Linked DNA regions of Homo sapiens: regions 1 and 2 are each linked to region 3. The links are contacts of gene promoters, found by promoter capture Hi-C in blood cells and fetal thymus (Javierre and others, 2016). All regions are on one chromosome and are shown on one strand. Each heading gives the region's core, a stretch centred on a gene start or on the middle of the fragment in contact. The rest is flanking DNA. Distances are from core to core; before and after follow the strand shown. Region 1 overlaps LOC105373404 (a long non-coding RNA gene). Region 2 overlaps LOC105373404 (a long non-coding RNA gene). Region 3 holds the start of ALLC (allantoicase).

Region 1 (3,785 bases), core at 764-3,263, 3.1 Mb after region 3:
AGAAGCTCCAGGAGATTCTCTTTGGTTGAATCTCATGCCATGAGACTTGGCTTCTGGCCACGATGGAGTGAGAAGCCTGGACTGACCTTTCTGCCTGGAGCAAGGGAACACCGTGTAGAACCGGCACGGCGCATCTTCCAGACGGCAGTGCCCAGGCTGCTTGGCAGGCACCCCTGCAGGAGGGGTCAGGGAGGTGGGCACCCAGCGGTCCCTCAGCACCCGTCCCGTGTGGCACAGTCCAGCCGCCTCCCAGGGCCGAGGAGGGGAGACGCAGGCTCCTGGGCTGCTCCCACCCAGGCCCCTGGAACAGCGCATCTTCTGTGACCGTGGTGAAGGAAAATCTCAGCCTCTGCTTCCCACCTCCTCAGCCCCTGCCTCAACAGGAAGCCCACAGCGCAAGAGACGCCATTCTAGGGCCAGGAAGGAAGAGCCTCAGACCCTGGAATTGCCATGTACAAACTAGACGTGTATTTATGGTGTGTCTGAATGTACAACAATTTCCTGTTTCGGAGAAAATAGTTCCTTCCTGGAAGGGCTGTTCTGTATTTGCACACTTTTCCCATGTGATTTTGGGGAAAAGTACCTGACTTTCTGTGAATAGACGCACTTTTTCTTACCGAAAATAATGATAGTTTCAATCTGGCTATAATCGTTCATATTCATGATTTTTTTCGGATGTAGAAATCAGCAGTTTTGCATTGTAAGACCTCACCCATCCACCACTCACCGTCCCCACACCCCTGGGAACAGGAGGAACCTCACAGAAGAAGAAGGTGGATTTTACTACCTACTTGCCACACCTCAATCTCTCTGTCTGTAAGCAGAGAGAATACGGTAATAATAATATTAATAATGATAATAATAATACCTTTCTCACAAGTTCGCAGGGAGGGATGAGTTCATGCACATAAAATGCTCAGCCCAGCACAGCTGAGCACACGATTCTCAGCACTATTACTTGCATTCTTGTCACTGAAAGGAAGAGGGAACGGAGTGTGACAGCGCAGGTTAGACCCCCGGCGCAGCCATCCACCTGCCACTTTGTCACAGGGACTCCACGACTAACTGCCGCCCTATTTTCCCATAAGCAGGCAATGGTGATGATAAAATCATTCTCAAAGCTTAGGGAGGCCAGGACCCAACCCAGGGCCGATCAACGCAAAGCCCTTGCTGCTTCCTATCCCATAAAACCCAATTATTTATGAATGTGAACCTAAAGCCGCATCCTAATTTAGAAGGCATGGAGATAACATGGCCAAGCAGCCGCCTCTCCAGGCAGCGAGATGACTAGGTAGGTCCCAGAGCCCTGAGCATGTCCCCTAGAAAACAACTCAAGACAAGTGCATTTGCATGCCTTCTTCTGTCTCTCTGAAATCACTCAGTTATAGTCACTCAGTGTGTGCTCACAAACACTGAGTCTCCCCTACACGTGATGCATTTCAGTACCAGGGCAATTCGAGTGAGAAACATGGCCATAGCCCCCAGCCTCTTGGACTATCAGAACTCTTAGGAAGTACAAGGATTGAAATATGTGGTCTAACAGCAGAGCGGTATTTTTCTCATTGTACCACCTTGTTGTAAAAAATTGCTGGAGCCTGAAGGAAACCACCTATGGGAAGGGTGTGAGTCAATGGTTCCCCACTTCTGCAGAGTTCCTTCTGAGCAGCTCAGAGCCCACCCCGTGTGGACACATCTCTTACCAAGATGACCTTCCCCTAGCGGGAAACGGAGGAATGAGCAGGCGGCACTCACAGTGCCAATTACAGCAAGGGGATTTGCATAGGAGACCTAACTGCCTGTTTCAATTAGGAGCAGCAACTCCCTCCTTCTTCCTTCCCAAGGAGCCAGGAACACCAGGCATGTGGGTTTGGATTTGTCTGGGAGGAGGCATGACTGTGCGCACCAGAGTGAAAGCCTCCCCACTCACACTGCTCACCTGGAGAGAGGCTCAGGGATCCTGGCAGGCGCAATGTTTGAGAAATGCCCAGGCGAAGAAGATGAATGCTTCCTTTCACCGGGCCCTCCCTGGCTTTAACTCTTCTTAGTCCTGTCTCTGGGAGACCCTGGCAGCCCCTCGCAGCTGTGACCTCTCTAAACTGTCAGCCTCAGATTAACTGATACTTCATCAATTTTGCCTGAACTGCATTTGCAACCCGGTCTCAAGAGGACAGCCAAGTGCATCAACGCTGGGCATTAACCCCCCAGAACCAGATTGCCTTCAAAACGAGGGGGACTTTTCCAATATTCTCACAGCGGCCCGGGCAACAAGCCTAGGGGGACTTTGGCCAGAGGGGAGAGAAGGGGCCTCTGATTATTCCTTGTAAATTTTTCATGAGGACATCTGCCCATACTCTGCGCCTCCTCCAGAGCTGCCCTCTCTCTCTCTCTCCCTTCCTCTGTCTCTGTGTTCAGGCCTCTGACAAGGCATGAAAAACGAGAATGATTGGGCCTCAGTCCCCATTAGCCAGGAAGTGACTGATGGGAGGATGGGCGTGTGTGGTGACTTCAGGCTTGGGAGGGGCCGGGGCTGCCGGGTTTTGAAACAAAAGACCAGTCAGGAATGGATGAGTCCTAGGTGGATCTGCAGATGGAGGCTGTGCTGTGAGTAGGTGGCTAAGGTGCACAGATGGTCATGGCTGATAGGCCAGCCTGGCCCGGGCTCCTGGTTCTGCAGACCCCAGCTCTGGGCTGGAAAATCGGTCCCCGCCTCCCCCATCTTCCCCAAGATTGTCCCCGTCCTTCCTCGGGCAGACCTTCACCGTGGAGCAGAAAGCTGCCTACAATATCGCCCAAATCAAAGCCAAGAAGAATTAGAGTGTAGGGACAGGGGAACAGGGAAGTGCTTTTTTAATTTAAATAATAAAAAATAAAAAATAGTCATTCTTTTGGAAATACTAGCAGCTTACAAGCTTTAAAATCCTCTTTCCCAACAGTTTAAATCAAAAGCCAGCAGCCCTTTCTCATGGATGCATCAAATCATGCAGATGTCCTTTTTGTGCCCCCTTTAAGGTGACATGTGCTTCAATTTATTTTTAATCTTCTAAGTGATGTCATCAGGACGCCGCCCGGGTGACACGGGAGGTGGCTGCTCCTGGGGCTGTGGGTCTGGGCAGTGCAAGCTCCACGCGCACTGACCCCATGGGCTCAACCCAGAGTCCACAGTCAGAAACCGGCCCCGGGCGGCAGGAGACGCTGCAGAGGGAGATTCCATAGAAGAGGTAAATTCATTAAGAAACTCATCACCGAGCACACCTTAGAAATCCCACCTTTTGTGCTCAACGTGGCCGGGTCCCCGGGGACGCCGTTGGCAGCTCTCCATGGAGCAACAGTGCCACCCAGTGGTCAGTCCTCGCGATGCCGCCGCCCGCTCCCCTGTGCGGTCCTCAGCGGCCTGGGAGAAGACAGAGAAAATGAGTTGGTACAAACGCTTGCCCCGAATATCACATCTTTAAATAGTTACCCACATGAAAGAAGGCCTGCAACTGATTCAAAACCACCTCGATGAAAAAAATCTGAGCACACCCATCAAAGGCACTGCGCACAGAACTCAGGAATGTTTTCTGCTGTTTGGAGTTTTCTTCTCCCCTCCTCCCTCCTCAATAACGATACTGGTGATTACATCTTCCAGGGGAAAATAAAATTAAATGCATCGACTTAATTGTTTAATTAGTGTGAGCATAGGTAGTACTATCCAATTCAAAGATCTAAGCAACTGAAATTCCATTTGGAGGGAGTTCCCCCACTACGGGAAAAGGAAGCAGGAGTGTCACAGGATTGGGGATCAC
Region 2 (3,598 bases), core at 988-3,487, 3.1 Mb after region 3:
TTCTCAAGTGTAGGCATAGTTTCTACAATCCCTTACTGCTCAGGAGTCATATGGCCAGAGGTCACGAGATCTGTGACTTCCCCAATTGCTTCTACAGATAACATCACCATTGTAGAACCTAAGATTGGTATTTTGAGATATTGTTTAGATTTCTACATTCTAGCAATCAACTCCATGATTTTTGGTTCTAGTAATCAACTATGAACCTGTGACTCATGACTCAACCAGTCCTGTGGTCTCCACCCAGAAGCTGAGGACCTCAGCACATGAGGACCACTTTCCACGCCCCTATGACTGACTCCCAGCCAATCAGCAGCACTCCTGTCTACCAAATTGGCTATAAAAACCCAACCTCTGAGCTCTTGGAAAGGCTGATTTGAATAATGGACTCCAGTTCTTCCATGTGGCTGCCCTAGCATTAAACTCTTTCTTCACTTCAGTACCATGGTCTCAGTGAACTGGTTTTGTCTGTGCAGTGGGCAGGAAGAATGCATTGAGCAATGAGAACAACTCATGCAGGGATTACTATGTGCCTTAGTATTAAGTCAGTTAATTATTGTTGGAGCTCAGAAAGTGGTACCTCAGAAATGGCGCTTTCCCATGCTGAGAGGCCTGATATGCTGCTTCAGAATCAAGGTCCTTCTAACATTGCCTTATTCACCCACGACCCTAGCAAGCACATGGAGGGATGGAGAGACTCCTGGAATGTCCTTATCTGATCAAGAAAGCTTCTTTCCAAAAGAAACACAATTGCTTTTTTCTCCTTCCTGAAATCTCATTGTCTATCTGGGAAAAGAAGACTGAGGAACGCAAAAGCACCTGCTTTCCGTGTCTCTGGCTCATTGAAATTCCAAAAAAAAGAATCATTTACAAGTTAATTTCTGTCCATTTATTCTCCATAATAATTATTTGCTGCCCCTCAGAAAAAAGCCCCCAGTCCCCATCTCCTCCTCCCCTTATGCAAAGGGGAATATAAGCTTCTGTACCCGTTGGGTTGTTGGGCAACCATTCTGTTGTGATTCTCCATGCTATGCAATGAAAATTAAGTTTTGTATGCTTTTCTCCTATGAATCTGTCTTTTTAAAGTTGATGTTCAATGAACCTTTATAGGGCAAACCGGAAGTTTCCCCTTGGCCCTACATTATCTAAACAACACTAGGAGGAATTATCATAATAAGTATTATTTAGATTCTAGTTTTAAAGATGGGGATCCTGAGCCAGGGAGGTTAAGTAACTTGCCCAAGATCACACAGCTAGCACAACTGAGCCAGGATGCGCATGGCCCAGCCTCAAACTCCAGGCTCCTAATGCCTACACAACACCACCTTGAAGGCTGCTTGGAGTTTCAAGATATTTTTGGATCCCATGTTAAGAACCATTGGTCTAGCTTATTTGACCTAAGGTGCTATACCTATAATTTATGGCGTTTTGTAAGAATTGCAGGAAATCATGTAGGTGAAAATACTTTGTAAATTATAAAATATAAATTATTACTCTTGTGGATCATCACTCTTCCCATTGTACCTGGCCCTCATGGGACTCCTTTACATCAAGTACTCCTAAGGGAAGCTGCAGGGTTCCTCCATATCCTTGGTCATGAATCATAATCCCAGACTAGTTAAGGCATGTCAGACTGACATGGTTTGGCTCTGTGTCCTCACCCAAACCTCATCTGAAATTGCAATCCCCATGTGTTGAGGAAGGGAGGTGATTGAATTATGGGAGCAGTTTCCCCCATGCTTTTCTTGTGATAGTGAATTCTCACGAGACCAGATGACTTTATAAGGCAGTTTCCCCTTCTCGCTCACACACTCTCTCTCTCACCTGCCACCACGTAAGAGGTGTCTCTTCCCCTTTTCCCATGATTGTAAGTTTCCTGAGGCCTCCCCAGCTATGCAGAACTGTGAGTAATTAAACTTCTTTTCTTTATAAATTACCCAGTCTTGGGCAGTTCTCTGTAACAGTGTGAGAATGGACTAATACATAGTCCATCCTTATTCCAACCCTCTCATCTTCTATCCTTGATCCTTTTTCTTGCATATCCGTTCCTAGCTCTCCACCAAACCTTTCATGCAGCTCTAGCTCGCATGTTGGCTCCTCTTGACACCAGCTCTGGCTCTACCACCCAACAACACTGCTCCAGCCCCCACAGATCTACATACCCAGGTTCACGTACCCTCAAAACATTCACAGTGGGGCTCCCTTTGAGACACTTGTACAGGGGACACCTAGATGACCACCACAGCTTAGCACGGTGATTCACATGAAGTCATTTAGTATTGGTTGGATACAACTGTGGCCAAAAATGAGAGCCCTTAATAATTAGAGCAAGATGTTCTGCTGGAGTATGAATGCCTAGCTCATAATTTCTACTCACTAATAAAAATCTTGACAAATATCTCATATTGAATAGAGCACTGTGTTGTTATGATTTGGAAATGTCAATCTCCATTGAATGCATTTTACACCAGGAAGATCCCTGGAGTCTTATTCTTTGTAGCAGGATGAGCGTAATGAAGCCAGCCAGACTATGTCAGGAACAGGACATCCTAATGCATCATGAAGAGTGGATGGCCTCGCTGTAGCCTCTACTTCCCCTTCAGCATTGCTCTCTAGAGGGGCTGCATTGGTAGTAGCATCCTGCAGAAAAGTCAGCTCATCTAGCTGCACACGAACCAACCCGATACTCTTGCACATTAACTCAAGCCTGTAATTCCACGTTGAATTTCTCATGGCATTAGGAAAGCACTCAGGCATCTCTCCACGGAATTACAACCCTATTATGTACAATTGAGTATACATTACTCCTTATTTTCATGTCAATAGCTTGGATAAGGCTATTACTAAAGCACTGGAGTATATAAGAGTTACATACTTAGGGGCAGAAAAAGCTGAACTGGGAAATTAAGATGCAAAATATGAGTGAGTAAAAGCTATATTTTTGTGACACATTTATATCTCAACTGGAGTAATTAGACAAATATGAAATGAGACAAATTGTCATTTTATTTATTTCCATTTTTACTATCATCTAGTCAGCTTTTAATCTGTATTCACCTGCACAAAGTATGCATTTCAGTGGTCTTATCTCTGGGAAAGGCAGGCAAACTGATGCTGCCTCCTACAATATCTAGTTTCCTTTCAAGAAAGCAGAGGGGTTATTGTTTGCCAATTAAAAATAAAAGAACAAGCCTTAGGGGCCAGACTGGGAATAAAGTGGAGTTTTTCCCCAAAATTTTAACACTTTTTTAAAAGTGACAATAATAATAACTGCCAGTTACTGAACTATTTGGGATAATATTTCAGAAAATGAAATATGGAGCAAGGCTGGCAGTTAAAATAGAGTCAATAAGGTTCAAATCCCGCTCTGTCATTAATTATATCTCTCTTAGACTCACTTCTTCATCTGTCAAATGGGGTTTGACATGGGGTTTTTAAAGAATTAAATGAGACGATCTATATGAAAAACTTAACCCACTATATGGCACATAAGCACTTAAAGCTTGTTATTTTCAATTATTACCGAATTATTAATTTAGGCAAATCATAGTCTTTTTGAACCTCTATTTTCTTACCCACAAAATGGGAATAATAATAC
Region 3 (3,829 bases), core at 464-2,963:
CCTCATAAGACAGAGCATCCAAACTTTTAACTTCACTAAATTAAGTTGATTTTAGCGTTAGAGAAGTATTGAATTTAGCATAGCTAGTGGCTGCCACGTCGGATGGGGCAGCTAGCTGGCAGAGCCCTGTGCTCAACCTCTGGCCATGGCCCAGCAGCCCCAGCATCGCCCTGGAGCTTGGAGAAATCTCAAGCCTCAGGCCGTATCTCAAATCTGCAGCGTCAGAATCTGCACTTTAACCAGCTCGTAGGTGATTTGGAAGCACATTAGATTGTAGGAGCCAGCTCGGTGTGGAGGGCAGAGGTCAGGGTGTGGAGGGCAGGGGTCAGGGTGTGGAGGGCAGAGGTCAGGGTGTGGAGGGCAGGGGTCAGGGTGCCTTCTTCCATGGCTTTATCGGTGCCACAGCCTAGGCTTAGCGAAACCACGAGGATAAAAATAGGCCCTTCTGTTCTCCGCACCGTGAGCTTTGTGACTGATCCGAGGCGGCGAGCGGGGGCACTGCACTGCTGTGGCGGGGAAGTCACGGCTGACAAGAACTGCCAGGGACGAAGCCACGTGCATTAATTCATTAAAATACAGTCAGCTATGGAAGGCAGCATAGGATGTGGTTTCGTTCTTAAAGAATTTCATCTGGATGGGCAGACAGATGTGTAAACATGGACTCAAAGGCCGGGCGAGCTGAGATCAGACAACAGGCGCTGGACGCATCCTAACTACGGCTGGGTGGCGGGGCTGAGAGACGGGCTGGGGTTGGGGGTGGGGTTCTCAGTTGGAGGTGGCCTTGAGCCGGCCTTTCAAATGGCTTTGCTTTCCTCTGGGAAAGCTGGAGTTCAGGAGGAGAAGGCCGGTCAGGCCCTGGGGAAAGAAAACCCAGGAAGGAAAAAGGAGCGTGTGGGTGATGGATCTCCCTGGGACGCAGGTTGTCTTTCTGGAGCCCCAAGGGCCCCTGTGCGCGCCATCTGCTGTGCTGGGTTCTGGTTCCAGCTCAGTCCCTCCCTGCGCAGGTGACCTCGGGTGGCTTTCCTGCCTTCAAGGCCCCAGCTGATTCATCTGCAGAGTGGATAGCTTGCCCCGCAGGGTGGCTGTGGTGAAGCAAGGCAACGTCTGTTACTGCATGTCGAAGCCGGGCTCAGCTGTTTCTTTCTGCATGGAAAGTTCTTCTGCAGACAGTGGGGCCTTTGAAGGCAGGCGGCACGTGTTGTTTTGTATGCCACAGGCCTAGCATCCACTTGGCAAGGTGCCCTTTCTTAAGCATCTGTGGGCTTCTTTAAATTCCATGAAAATTTTGTGTGTATTTACTTTTTCTGGGGCTGAGGGGCTCTAGCCAAACCCTCCCAAGGGCCCCTGTCTTCTCTAGTAGGTCAGGACCCACTGCTGGGTGTGCTCAGTGTTTTCTGAGTTAATGATGATTAGTGAATAGGTGACGTCTAGAGATAAAACTTTAAGTCAGGTTACTGGCCGGACCAGGAAGGTGGGGGTTTCAGGCCCAGGCCAGTGGCCGGAGGCAGCTTTGTTAGGGACAGGGAAGGGCCCTGGGACCAGCAGGGACCATGTCTGGCTTCGGGCCTTGTGCGAGGGTCTTGCAGAGGCCTGCTTGGCTTCTCCGGGGAGGGGCTGCTCCCCCTGTTACTTCCACCTCTCTGCAACCCTTGTGACATCATACAGGCACAGCCAATCTCTGCAAAGTTCTGTCTCTACCTCAGGCCCCTATACATTCTCTCTGAGCTGGCACTCAAGCACCGTGGGACCTTGGCTGGCTTCTGGGGAGCAAGAGATCCATTTATGAATACTTGATTTCTGACTGCTGGGTGAGCTGGAGTGTGGTTTATAAATACCTTGCTATCTTTAAGGTGGGCTTTGCCAAAAGAATAGGGTGACAGAGATGAATTTCAGTCATGCAACGAACCCTCGACACTTGGAAGGTGACAGAGGGTAGATGGTGACAGACACCACTTTGTGCCGTTGAACTGTGTTGGTACCGGGCGTGGCCCAAACACCTGGAGGGGCCCCACAGGTGGGTCAGGCTTCTGGGCTCTGGTCACTGCTCTGTTTGGTTTCAAATCATGTGACTTTGGCCTTCTTAAAAAAAAATCTAAAGAGGCTGGGCATGGTGGCTCATGCCTGTAATCCCTGTACTTTGGGAGGCCGAGGTGGGTGGATTGCTTGAGTTGAGGAGTTTGAGACCAGCCTGAACAACATGGCAAGACCCCATTTCTACCAAAAATCAAAAAAATAGCCAGGCATGGTGGTGCGTGCCTGTGGTCCCAGCTACTTGGGAGGCTGACATGGGAGAATTGCTTGAGCCCGGGATGGGATTGGGGTGGAGGTTGCAATGAGCCAAGATCATGCCACTGTACTCCAGCCTGGATGACAGAGTGAGACCCTGTCTCAAAAAAAAAAAAAAAAAAACCTAAACAACTAAGGCCATGGTGAAGTAAACCTATATTCAAAACAAGAGTCACAAAGTAGAACTAAATGTAAATATATACCAAGAGTTGCCGGTAGTCAGGAGTCTCGTGCAGTTGACCTTGGGCTGCTCAGAGTCCCTGCTCAAGGTCACTCTAATTTTGTCCCAAATTTGAACAAACCACTTTTATTATTTCACCATAAATCTCATACTTTTGGCCAAAGGCTTCTTCGGAACTTATTGACAGCGATGACAAAGCCCCTGAAGGTTTTCTTCTTTACGAGGGAGTAACTCTTCCATCAGCACAGCCTTCCCTGCTTGTCAGAGGGAGGTCTCTCTTTCTTGTGCTTCCTAGACTTGCCTGGTCATGCCTTTTCTTATTTTAAGGCTAATCTCAAAAGAAAAAATAGTGTGAGCACCACTTGACTGCCTGAAATTTCATGACTCTATTTTAGAGAGTCATTGCCTCATCGCCTTGCCGTAACCCATGACAATGCTCCTCATTTGCGGTGATTAAGTTGAAATTTGCAGGTAAAACTTTAGCATGTTCCTCAAACATCAGAGCTGACCCTGGGTCTGGTCTCAGCCACAGCAGAAAATGTATTTAAGAGCTCCCTTGAGCAGGCAGTGGGAGGGGTTGCAGCAATGAGCTTAGAAGCAGCTGCCACAGGCTGTCTGAGCACTGTGAGCTGCTGAGCTGGTGGCCTCAGCCGAGGTCGCGTGGCTCCTTCCTTTCTTGCCTAGACCTTGGCTATTTTATCAACAGAAACGGCAGGGACCAGTGAGCAGAGAGCTCAGCAAGCTCATGGCGCAAGAGTCGTGGAGCTGTGACCTCCACCAGGGCTGAGAACGGCCCCTTATACCGCCAGCTCTTGGCTGCCTGGAATCTCTCGGGAACCTCCACGGGGCCCTGCACAGCACAGGCCACTGTGGATACTTCTGGGATTTGTGGCTGAGGAGAGAAACTTAGGAAAGACAAATGTCACGGCCCTTTCACAGCAGACACTGGTTGGGCCTGTGCTGTGGCCTGGAGGCCCAGCTTTAAACGGTCTCTCCTTTCTCACATTTTTTTATCTTAGGGGTGGGGAGACTTTTCACATAACAGCCTTTGAGGTTGTGGGGTGCTATGGTTTGGATGTTTGTCCCCCCAAACCTCATGGTGCAATCAGATCCCCCGTGTTGGAGGTGGGGCCCAGCGGGAGGAGTCTGGGTTATGGGGGCGGATCCCTCATGAATGGCTTGGTGCCGTTCTGGAGGTGGTGAGACGGTTCTTCCTCTGTTAGTCTGGTGAGAGCTGCTTGTTAGGAGGAGCCTGGCGTCCCTCCCACGCTTCCTCTTCTGCCCTGTGGTGGCTGCACGCCGGCTCCCTTCACTTCCTACCAGGAGTGGAAGCAGCCTGAGGCCCTCGCTGGAAGCATATGC

Evidence for each region. The method cuts DNA at HindIII sites, captures the fragments that hold promoters and counts their contacts. A CHiCAGO score of 5 or more calls a contact.
Region 1: a fragment that was not itself captured here is called in contact with the fragment with the promoter of ALLC in region 3 in 4 of 17 cell types (M1 macrophages, M0 macrophages, M2 macrophages and 1 more); the score reaches 8.3 in M1 macrophages.
Region 2: a contact is called between a fragment that was not itself captured here and the fragment with the promoter of ALLC in region 3, in 1 of 17 cell types (M2 macrophages). The highest score is 6.9, in M2 macrophages.

Annotation. Positions count from the first base shown.
Region 1 is chr2:6,769,993-6,773,777 of GRCh38, forward strand. LOC105373404 (a long non-coding RNA gene) reads right to left here. Exons shown (of 4, transcript XR_922745.3): 4 at 2,831-3,391. It overlaps LINC00487 (long intergenic non-protein coding RNA 487), which reads right to left and starts at 319. Exons shown (of 6, transcript NR_038369.1): 1 at 87-319. RefSeq lists an enhancer at 3,175-3,785. The HindIII fragment of the contact is 1,788 bases long and covers 1,120-2,907 here.
Region 2 is chr2:6,787,184-6,790,781 of GRCh38, forward strand. The region is part of intron 3 of LOC105373404 (a long non-coding RNA gene); the gene reads right to left. Among named protein-coding and RNA genes, the nearest start is that of LINC00487, 19 kb to the left of the region's middle. The HindIII fragment of the contact is 2,525 bases long and covers 976-3,500 here.
Region 3 is chr2:3,656,487-3,660,315 of GRCh38, forward strand. It overlaps ALLC (allantoicase), which reads left to right and starts at 1,714. Exons shown (of 12, transcript NM_018436.4): 1 at 1,714-1,808. RefSeq lists a silencer at 3,583-3,829. The HindIII fragment of the contact is 6,896 bases long and covers 1-3,829 here.